Regions from separate parts of the Homo sapiens genome. Here all the other regions are linked to region 1. The links are contacts of gene promoters, found by promoter capture Hi-C in human tissues and cell types (Jung and others, 2019). All regions are on one chromosome and are shown on one strand. The core of a region is centred on a gene start or on the middle of the fragment in contact, and the rest is flanking DNA. Distances in the headings are between cores, read along the strand shown.

Region 1 (2,665 bases), core at 82-2,581:
CCAGAGTCTTCTTATGAAGGACTGTTGTGAATACTGGCATTCGTAAATTTCTAAAAATAAAATTTCCCAGGTGCACAGTTTTCCTCCCTGTCAGCATAATCTTGGGCTAAAGTTGTTGTTTAACAAGGCAATGGGCATTTATGACATTTCTACCCATTACAGCATTTAACAAATGTTATTGTAATTGCTAATTCACCTGTCTGTATTCCACTTTAGACAATAAACTCTGTGAGATTAGAGACCGTGTCCATCTAGTTCATCTTTGTATCCTCAATCTAATATATAATAAAAGGTCAATAAAATATATGCTGAATCAATGAAAGTCCCAGCAATGTGGGGAATGGTAATGAAGAACTCCAGAGCAATGCACTTACCTGTGAGATCCAGGGTTCTGTCCACAAAAACCACTGATGCCCTGCCTGCAGCAGTCTTCTTCCTGTTCTTTGCAGGGGCATAATTGGCCAGATCCGCAGCGATGACCTGACTTAAGGAACCTACAGCAAAACACTCCTCCCGTACTCCTAAATGTTCACACAGAGAACTGAGGCCTGACACTAGGCATCTGATCTGCAGCAGCAGCTCTGGGGTTAGCGTAGTGGAGTCCACATCACCCAGGCTTCCCAGCTTCCTCTTGTCCGGTCGGGCGCTATTAAGGAGGTGCACATCCTGGGGTAGCAGTGGGAAAAGGGATGCAAAAGCTGGAGTCAAGGCAAAGTGGGGAGCAACAGGGGCAAGCAATAACGGGACATGGAACACCTCGGCCGTGTAGTTCATGTTGCCCATCCATTCACACAGCTTCTCCTCCAGCTGCTCGAACACCGGCTGCTGCCCCTCCATCTCGGCCGCTGCCGCCGCTGGGACATGATTAGCTGTGAGGTGGACAGCGTGGCTCACGGTTGTGACCACCACACAATACTGGAAGTGACTGCGGCAGATGATGTCCCGTAGGATCTCCACGGTCCGGCCTTTCAGCAGGCAGCTCAGCACAAACACTGCCTTGGGCTGCTTGGCTCCACCACCAATTGCGTCGGGCTCGAACTCTCGCAGGTGACAGTCAGGACCCCCCACCGCCTCCAGGAGACGGGTGGATCCGCAGCCCCAGTGCAGGCTCTCGGCGCAGGCGGCGTCCAGGTAAACCACAGCCCGTTTCACTTTGGCCAGCACCTGCTCCCATCCTTGCTGGGTAAAGGACAGTACGCCCGAGGCGCTCATGGTTGGGGATTCGCAGACTTGGGAAACTACGGTGCAGGAACTTCTTTCAGAACTCACCGCTTCCGGAAATTGGGCTCCGGGAGACTTTGACAGTCTCCACAGTACACGTGGTCGGCCTCTGACACGCTCCCTGATGGCGCTCGGTGATGACGTTAAACTGAGCGGTGATTGGCTAGAGAGGAGGCCGGGAGTGAGGAAGGATGGCGCGGTCGGGAAAGAAGTGGGTGGGGCTCTGTGGCTCCGGGCTTCCTCAAAAGCTCGTGGAGATCAGGTGTTTCCTGAGATGGAGCTGAACTGAGTTCTTTCCGTCGCTCGGCCTGTCTGCGCAGATAATCTTCTCAGATAATCTTCTCATGTTCCTTGAAAAGTCTCCGAAATAAAAACCTAATCCGAAATTTGGTATCTTCCTTAGATATGAACACGTCTCCAAAAGTACAGCCACCTTCTCAATCTAAACTCAGAGCAACTAGAAAAAGATAATAAAAACAACCGTGTGCAATATTTTGGGTTTATAGATTGCTGTCACATACGTTATCGCCCACAAGCCTCATAACAAACCCTGTTGTTCTCATTTTCACTTTCTCCATCTTTCCTCCCTCATCTCATCGTCACTACATCTTATAGGCTTAAAAACTCTCAGAATTCAGCCCTTCCTCTCCATTTTTGCTGTCACAAAAACCCAACATCATCGCTCACCCAGGCAATGATCTCCCAACATTTTCTGACTTTTGATCTCTTTACCCTCCAATTCTATTTTCTTCCTAATAAACAAAGTTGGTCCTACAACTTTCCTGCTTAAAAGCTTCTCCTAGCCCAGTTGCCTATAGGATACATCCACACTCTTTAAAAAGCATCAACATCCTTCTTGATTTCTCAATTTCTCTCCAGCTATTCCCAACATGGAGAAAAATTGTACCGATACAATGAAGTCAATAGGCTGAACCCAAAATGTTTTATGGGTTCTGTTTGTTCCACCAATATACTTACATTACTAAGTATAATCTCTGTGCTAAGCTTCAAAGATGCAATGGTTAATAAAATTCATTACCTAATCCACAAAGAATTTACCTGGTAAACTTACCGAAAATAATCATTCCAACAGTACTGCCTGTGAGAGACTTTTTCTAACTCACCACCACTATCACCCTATCACCTCTCACTTCCCCCACCTATCAAACCACTCAATTGATACATTCGCTAAGTACTTGCCATATCATGGGGTAAGTATTAACACTATTTTCTTTAAACTATCTGTTTTGCTAAATTATGCACTAGATGCTTGGTATCCCCAACACTTATAACAGGTGTTCAATAAATGTTCGTTGAATGAATGTTCAATTAATATCCATGGCCAGGCGCGGTGGCTCATGCCTGTAATCCCAACACTTTGGGAGGCCGAGGTGGGCAGATCACCTGAGGTCAGGGGCTCAAGACCAGCTTGGCCAACATGGTG
Region 2 (2,665 bases), core at 99-2,598, 340 kb after region 1:
TTGCCTGAGAACAGGAGTTTCCACAATTAATCTTGGATCATGAAAGATATCTATGGCAGAGATAAGAGAGCTAGCAAACTAGCATCCTTAAGGACTCAGCAGATGCCTACAGGTTAAAAATTCATGCAGACCTGTTGGGAAATAAGAGAGAAATGAGATGGTACGTGAGGTGACTTTACTATGTGCATTTGTTTGCTGGGGCCTGTCGTCACAAAATACCACAGATTGGGAGGCTGAAACAACAGATATTTACTTTCTCACAGTTCTGAAGGCTGGAAGTCCAAGACCAAAGTGCCTGTTGGTTTCTTCTGAGGCCTCTCAGTTGGCTTGTAGATGGCTGACCTCTTGCTGCCTCTTTGAGGTCATCCCTCTGTGCACACCAGCCCTGGCATCTTTCTCTTCTTATAAGGACACAGTCATATTGGATTAATGCCCCACCCTAATGACCTCAGCGTAATCACTTCCTTAGACCTTTTCTCCAAGTATGGTTACATTCTGGAATATGCCGGCTGGGGAGGGGTGGGGTGGGTTGGAACTTCAACACATGAATTTTGGGGGAAACAGATTCAGCCCATAACACTGTGTATGTCTATGGGGACAAAGAATTGTACTGATTAAGGTAAATTATGTTAGTTGTTATAACTGATAAATTCTGAAGTCTTAGAGCATAATACAAACAAAATCTATTTTTCACTCCCATGAAAGTCCATTTCAATCGGCCAGTCTATGGCTGTAGAAAATGCAGTCATTCCCAGACCTACCTGCCATCTTCAACACATGTTGTGTCCATGGATATTTTGAAAGGAGAAGTCAGAAGGAAAGTATGGACAAGGCAAAAGACTCTCAATGGCCTTCACCCAGAAGTGACACATTACTTCCACTTACACTGCATCAGCAGGAGCTGGTCTTATGCATGCATCTAGAGGAAAGGGGTCTGGGCAATGTAATTTGCATCTAAGCCCAGGAAGGGAAAGTGGGTTAGGTAAACATCTAGTCAATCTTTGCAGGGATGAAGTAAGCTTGGCCAGCTGAGTTCTAAAGATGGGCCGGGTGTTCTGGGGAACTAGTCAGCAGGTACTAGAAAGTCAAGTAAACATTCATTAAAGAACCCTTCGAGGTTCCCAAAGTCATGACGGACCTTGGTCTTGGGTGGTGTTCCCCAACCTCTTTCATGTCATGGCACACATAGGAAAGGATCATTCTTGTGCTGTATATTAGACTCTCTGGATGAAGTTATTCAAGGCCAGAGGTGATACATGAATTAGGAGGCCCCATGCACTCCAGGTGGCCACCTGGCCACTGTGAAGGCTGAGGATCTTATGGCATTTGCCATTTAAGATGTCCAGGGTTAATGGCTGGTAACCTGTTTGCAACATACTGGTGTGCTGCAGCTTACAGGTGGGAATGTTGAGGTCTAGAGAACAAAGCAAGTAACATGTGGATTAGATGTGCATTCTGTGAAGACCAAACCTACTGCCACCATCATGGGATAAAACAAAAAGGGAAACCAGGTGCTCTAAAAGCCAAGGACAGCAGAATTGTCCTGAAGGATTCTGCAAGATAATAAAGCATAGGGACCACAGATTTTCCCTTCATCTGCAGTCCGCGCTCTTAAAACTAGTGAGTTTTAATTATGTTATATTTGTAGCAACTCTTTCTTCTCTCTCTGGAGTAATTAATTGGAAGAGAATTACAAAGGAAACCCAGACATGGGTAGTAATATTCATCAGAGGACACAACAGAGGAAAGAAAATAGAACATAGGCTCTTGAACATTTTAACATAGGTTCAAGATTTTAACATTTATATACTGTCTTTGGTTTGGTTTAAATCATATCCACTGTGAACTAACAAATATTTCATGTTATCTATAAATAACTCAGTGAGTGCTTACAAATTATAGGGCAATATAGTTAGATCACAATGTGGCAGAGTGGCTGAAGGCCAATTAGAAAGCTCATATGCTTTTAACAAACACCCCACCGAAAGAAATCAATTTACATCCCGTGATTATTGCACCATCAGAGAATCTTTGCAATGTTATTAACCCTGGACATCCTAAATTACAAATGGAGATAACACTTAAAATTGATTAGCAGTGTATTTTGAGATAAAATGGTGTTTTTGCCTTGCTAATCACCTCTTTCACAGAAATTATTCTTGCTTTCCATGAAGTTATGAAAAATAAATTGGAGAAATCTTTTATTAAGATTTTAAAAGCAAACAAATAACTTTCAGGATAATATTCAAATCCTTTGTAATTTCCTTTCTCCATTTTCATCAACTGTGGGAATGCTTAACCACACAGGAAGAAGTTGGTGGACTTGGAAAGTTGCTGAATTCTCTTATTTGAATCAATCCACATTAAACACAAGCTATTGTTTTATTAGCAAGTGAAAGATAAACATAGCTTACACTGAGTGGATATGGAAGAGAAATTGGTTTCCTCTAGCCCAGTGATCCTTGAACAAATGAATGATTCTGACAGAAACCTAAGGAGAGAAGATTTTCCTGAGATTGGGTGGAAACAAACCATTCATGTATCGAATCCCTTGTCACCCACAAAATCCAGCCTACCAGGTTCACTAGCTCCTTAAATCTATGTACCACTAGGGGTGCATGAGACAATTTTAAATGGCATAAAGAAGAACAGCTTATTATTAACA
Region 3 (2,665 bases), core at 44-2,543, 330 kb before region 1:
TTAGGCTGTAAGTGTAATACTTTTTGAATAATAATTGGTAACACAAAGTGACTCTTGGAATACCACATGCTCCCAGAATTTTCCTTAATAAGAACAGCATGTTAGAAAGATAATTCTGAAAAGAAAAACGAATACAAGTCTAGAAGAAGTCATGTTTTCTGATTTACTGAGCTCTTTACTGGCATTTACTGGAATCCAATAGAACTCCAGCCTCCTGGAGTTGGCAAATCCTTTCATGAGTCTGAGGAGGGTTCCATGAAGCAGGAAATCTGCCAAAATGAAATCACCTTTCTTTGGCCCACCCTCAATTGTAAAGACAACTGGATTGTCTTGGATACAACTCTTCAGATTGATAATTGGGCTCCTTTATATTTCCTTACAGATGTTCAAATGTTCACAGAAGAGTTTGTTTTAAACAGTTTTCATTGTAAAACAGTTTGCTTTTAATTAAAACAGACTTGCATGGAGAGTTTCATGAACAAATCATGCCTGACATCTGAAGCCTCTGAGCCTTGTCCATTATGAATTTTACTCTAAGTATAAAACGATAGGGAGAAAGAACATGGAAAATAAAATGCCAGGTTGTTAACAGAAAAAAGAAGACATTTAAAGTTTTTTGTTTTTTTTTTTTTTAGACAGGGTGTTGCTCTGCATTCATAGTGGAATACAGTGGTGTGATCACATCTCACTGCAGCCTCAATCTCCTGGGCTCAAGCAATCCTCCCACCTTCGCCTCCTGAGTAGCTGGGACTATAGTCATGTACCACAATGCCCAGCTAATTATTTTTTTTCTTTCAGAGATGGTGGATCTCACTTTGCTGCCCAGGCTAGTCTTGAACTTTTGGCTCAAGTGATCCTCCTGCCTCAGTCTCTCGAAGTGTTAGAATTATAGGCGTGAGTCACCATGCCTAGCCTAAAGTATTTTAATACCGACAAAAATATTTCCTTAAACAGGATTTGAATTCTGAGCTTTCCATCTACCAGCACTATATATTCCCTTTCCAGGTAGCAGTTTGGCTACTCTAGTCTAGTGCCTTCAGAATTCTGAAAAGCTCTTCTGGGCTTTCACTTTCCATTTCATCAAAGAGAAAAAGAGATTCAGTCTTCCTTTATGGGAACCCCATTTGGGATCAGAGTTTGGCTCTCAGGCCACGGTCTAAAACATATACATACCATATGTGTTCAATAAATGTTCATTTTTTTCTTTCTCATCCTTTGTTCTCTACTCTCTTATTTCCAATCCAGTTTGCATGTCCAATTATCAGGTCTATCAGAATAAGCCTTAAAATACCAATTTCATTAGGTGACTTTCTTGCTCAAAATCTTCCAGTGACTCCCAGCTGCCCATAGAATGTAGCCTGAACTTCTCTTCCTGGTATTCAAGGCCCTCTGTAATCTGACTACAATATACTTTAAAATTCTCTAACACACTTTAAAGACAAATTTCTATTGGGCCAATCTTCTCACCAATTCCTGCCTTTAAGTGCCAGGCCCTAACCAAATTTCTCACTGGGCCTGAGTTTAGGCATATCTTTTGCAAGAGGATTGGCTGCTCCACTCCTGCCCCGATAGATCACAGTAGCCTTAGTATAGCTACCAGGTAAGGGTGCCTCCTGTATATCATGCACTTTTCATACATTATCTTTTTTCATCATCATAATAACTTGTAAAGACCACATTCTGATTCCATTTTACAAATAAGGAAGTTGGAGCTCAGTGACATTGTGACGTAAGACCATGTTGTTGTTATGAAGTGGTGAAAACAGGATTCTCTCCTAAGACGGTTGCTAGAGCCATTGCTCTGCCCCTGCCTCTATGCTGACTTCATTCATCTCTTCTGCTCTGAACCTTGTCCAGTTTTATCTTTGGAATCACTTATTTGACACTTACACTCCTTCTGTCTTGAACTGGTAATTACATGATCCATTTGTGCTTATCTTCCCAACACGGCTGTTAGAGGGCAGTGGCTTCATGCTATTAACAAATCACCTCCATCAGCATTGAGCATAGTACTATGGCATAGCACAAATGCAGTGGGTGAGTATGTTCTGAAATCCTACTTATAAACTTCTTTTTGAGTTGAATTCTCCCTCAGACCTCCTGTTTTTGTTTAGAGTGCTGTTGCTCTTTGCTGAGTTAATGTTATCAAATGAAGCAATATATCTTTATCTGAGACCATGTAACTACCGCAGCATGTAACTCAATATGAGAGAGGGAGGTGAGCTTGACTCAAATGTCAATTTTCTAAAATTAACAAAGTATTTATGAATGAATGAACTTACATGAGTCATCTGAAGAAGGATCTTTATTTATAAATAATCCACATTGGAATTTGATTTTTTTTCTCCAACCATACCTCAATTTCATAAGATGGGGTTCATTTGAATCAAAATTTAATGTCCTACAATGCAATAAAAATGAAACAATGTGAGATTCCATATGCTTCTCATGGAAGCTTGCTAGTCTGTAAAATGGAAAGTACCTAGCCATGTTTAATGTAGATACTTTGCTTTGCTCTATTTGTCTAAAAATTTCCGAGGAATGCCCTGAATTATGCAACTATAAATATCTCTGTTCTTTGGGTTTCCTATCTTTTCTGCAAACTCCAACCACATTAAGTTCTTCCAATGCATGCTTCTTACTCATTGCCTTTTAGTAGTGGGTT
Region 4 (2,665 bases), core at 123-2,622, 300 kb after region 1:
TGCTAGGGAAAAGGGATTAGAGATGTCATCAAATATTTGAAGTGTCAAAAATAGCTGTGCCAATTTCCATCACACTAACAATGTATCAAATTTTAAAGGAAAATCCTAAAAGCTCGTTGATGCCCTCTTCCTGAAAATTCAAAGCCAGGCCTTTGTTCAAAGCCAGGAGGTGGTGAAACAGAGCTGGGAGCAGTATAGGACTGTGTGGGACCACTGATTCCTCTGAAGATGTAGTGAGAACAGACCAAGGAACTCAGGGTAGAAATACAAAAGGTAGGTACATGACAGAGGAGTAAATGGAAATGTGGAGGAGGTTGGCTTTTCTCATAGAATCCTGACACTTTTTCTATCTCCAAGAGCTTTTTCAGAAATAAATTTAATAGACAAGACTGCTAACTAAAAGCCTTTTTTAAAAAAGTATTACAATAATCAGTAGTAAATCTGAAGTATTAAAGATAACAGTAGTGGTTAGAGTCTTATACAAATTCAACATTAAGGCCTTAAATCTAACTTGTCAGTCACTTATTTTAGCCAGAGCATTTGCATGGACCCCAGGCCCCCTGGAGGCCCTGTGCGACTCTAGAGGTTCAAATAATGATGCCTAACACCATGTGGCAGATATGATCGAAACGAATCTACATATATTCCTACATGCATTTAATTCACACAGCAGATGAAGAAACTAAGGCATAGTGGAGTAGCTAGGTAATTTTCTGAAGTTTAGGGTGGTAATAAGTAGAGGAGCAGAATGTTAATCTCTTTGTTCCGAGAAGCTCTGATCGTATCAACTTCTGTGTGGTTGACCAGTTGGCTGCTTGCTTCCACCATTCTTCCTTTCTGGAAGAGGCTTGGGATGCATTCACTTCCCAGCCTTGCTTGCAGCTAGAACATGCACACATGCAACCCAATATTGGCCAATGGGAACTTAGGGAAGTCAGCTGGGGGACTTCAGGGAAGACTTTTTTTCCTAATAGAAGAAGATGCCTGCAAAGAAACCTCTTTCTCTCTTCCAAATATTGTGGGAGTGTAAATGTGTCGCTTAGAATGTGGCAGCCCCTATGCTGCCAAGCTTGCAGATTGCAGAGTGGAGAGATGGGAAGAGGCTCTATTCTTCATGATGCTATTGATCTGCTAATCCAATCTCAGCCTTGCCTGCCTATCTCTCAACTTCTTCTATTGTAAGATTATTAAGTTTCGTTTTTGTTTAAAACCACTTTTAGTGGATCTGTTCTGTTACTTGTAGCTGAAAGCAACTGAAACATTATTACTTTATGCCTCCAAGAATACTTAATTAATTGTAATCTCAGTATTTTGAAACTGTATTTTAAATGGAGCTGGGAAACCCTATAAGAATACAGAGCACACATTTCATATACAACAATCAGACTCCTGCTTCATTCTGTTCTTTGAGCTACAAACACATAAAACATTATTAATGACAAATTGAGTCATTTTTAAATGAATCTTACTAAAAGTACAAATGAAAAAAAAACTAATTCACTTTTTTTAAGCTGGAGGAAACCTAGTTTTAAAAAGTGCTAATTTACTTTGCTGTGCAAAGGCCTAGTAGTAATTGTTGAAATAAGGGGAAATCAGAAATATGAATTGGAAGTACCCCCCTGCCATGGACCAGGATGTGTATACTTTGCTCTGTACTTTTACCATAAATAGTTTTCAAAATTTTATGTAACTATTCATCAAGAGATGGTCATTTATATTTTGGAAGTTTAAAAATTCAGAATGGTCCTCACTTCTGCATATTTCTATTGGAAAACAGGATCCATATTCTGTTTGGATAGAATATAATGAAAGGGAATAAAATCTTGAAAGCAGTTTTGGTAGAAATCAAAATTTTTGCTTCAGATTACACTGCCCTAAATGGCAACCTGACTGAGAATAAATTAGTGTGAACTGATTCCACACTGTCAGGCAAGCTGTCCGCACCTGCTGAGGTGATAGTTGAGGGTGGGGGAGTTCTGTATATATTTAGACAAAGAGAGAGAGATGGATTTGAAGGAATTGGCTCATGCAATTATGGAGGCTGGTAGGCTGGAGACCCAGGGAAGAGCTGATGTTGGAGTTCAAGTACAAAGGCCATCTGCTGGCAGAATTCCCTATTCTTCTGTGGAAGTCAGTCTTTGTCTATTAATGCCTTCACCAGATTGGATGAAGCCCATCCACATTACAGAAGAGTAATCTGCTTTACTCAAAGTCTACTGATTAAATGTTAATCTCATTTAAAAATACCTTCAGAGAAAGATCTATTTGGTAAAACATTATTCTATTAGGTTGGTGCAAAATAATTGTGGTTTTTGCCATTATGTTTTTATTATCATACTTTAAGTTCTGGGATACATGTGAAGAATGTGCAGGTTTGTTACATAGGTATACACATGCCATAGTGGTTTGCTGTGCCCATCAACCCATCATCTACATTAGGTTATTTCTCCTTATGCTATCCCTCCCCTAGCTCCCCACCTCCTGACAGTCCCCAGTGTGTGATGTTCCCCTCCCTGTGTCTATGTGTTCTCATTGTTTAACTCTCATTTATGAATGAGAACATGCGGTGTTTGGTTTTCTGTTCCTGTGTTAGTTTGCTAAGAACAATGGTTTCCAGCTTCATTCATGTTCCTGAAAAGGACACGAACTCATCCCTTTTTATGGC

Evidence for each region. The method cuts DNA at HindIII sites, captures the fragments that hold promoters and counts their contacts. A contact is called where the count stands out against the background at its distance.
Region 2: a fragment that was not itself captured here is called in contact with the fragment with the promoter of SCFD2 in region 1 in 1 of the 25 tissues and cell types used here (pancreas).
Region 3: a fragment that was not itself captured here is called in contact with the fragment with the promoter of SCFD2 in region 1 in 1 of the 25 tissues and cell types used here (IMR-90 fibroblasts).
Region 4: a contact is called between a fragment that was not itself captured here and the fragment with the promoter of SCFD2 in region 1, in 1 of the 25 tissues and cell types used here (mesenchymal stem cells).

What each region holds. Positions count from the first base shown.
Region 1 is chr4:53,364,730-53,367,394 of GRCh38, forward strand. It overlaps SCFD2 (sec1 family domain containing 2), which reads right to left and starts at 1,332. Exons shown (of 9, transcript NM_152540.4): 1 at 375-1,332. The coding sequence starts at 1,212. RefSeq lists enhancers at 758-807, 1,028-1,227, 1,248-1,297. The HindIII fragment of the contact is 11,346 bases long and covers 1-2,665 here.
Region 2 is chr4:53,707,283-53,709,947 of GRCh38, forward strand. The region is part of intron 1 of LOC100506444 (a long non-coding RNA gene); the gene reads left to right. Among named protein-coding and RNA genes, the nearest start is that of LNX1-AS2, 120 kb to the left of the region's middle. The HindIII fragment of the contact is 4,669 bases long and covers 1-2,665 here.
Region 3 is chr4:53,038,076-53,040,740 of GRCh38, forward strand. All of the region lies in intron 5 of SCFD2 (sec1 family domain containing 2), which reads right to left. LOC124900701 (a long non-coding RNA gene) reads left to right here and starts at 540. Exons shown (of 3, transcript XR_007058116.1): 1 at 540-2,037. The HindIII fragment of the contact is 4,103 bases long and covers 1-2,665 here.
Region 4 is chr4:53,661,467-53,664,131 of GRCh38, forward strand. No RefSeq gene overlaps it. Among named protein-coding and RNA genes, the nearest start is that of LNX1-AS2, 70 kb to the left of the region's middle. The HindIII fragment of the contact is 3,037 bases long and covers 1-2,665 here.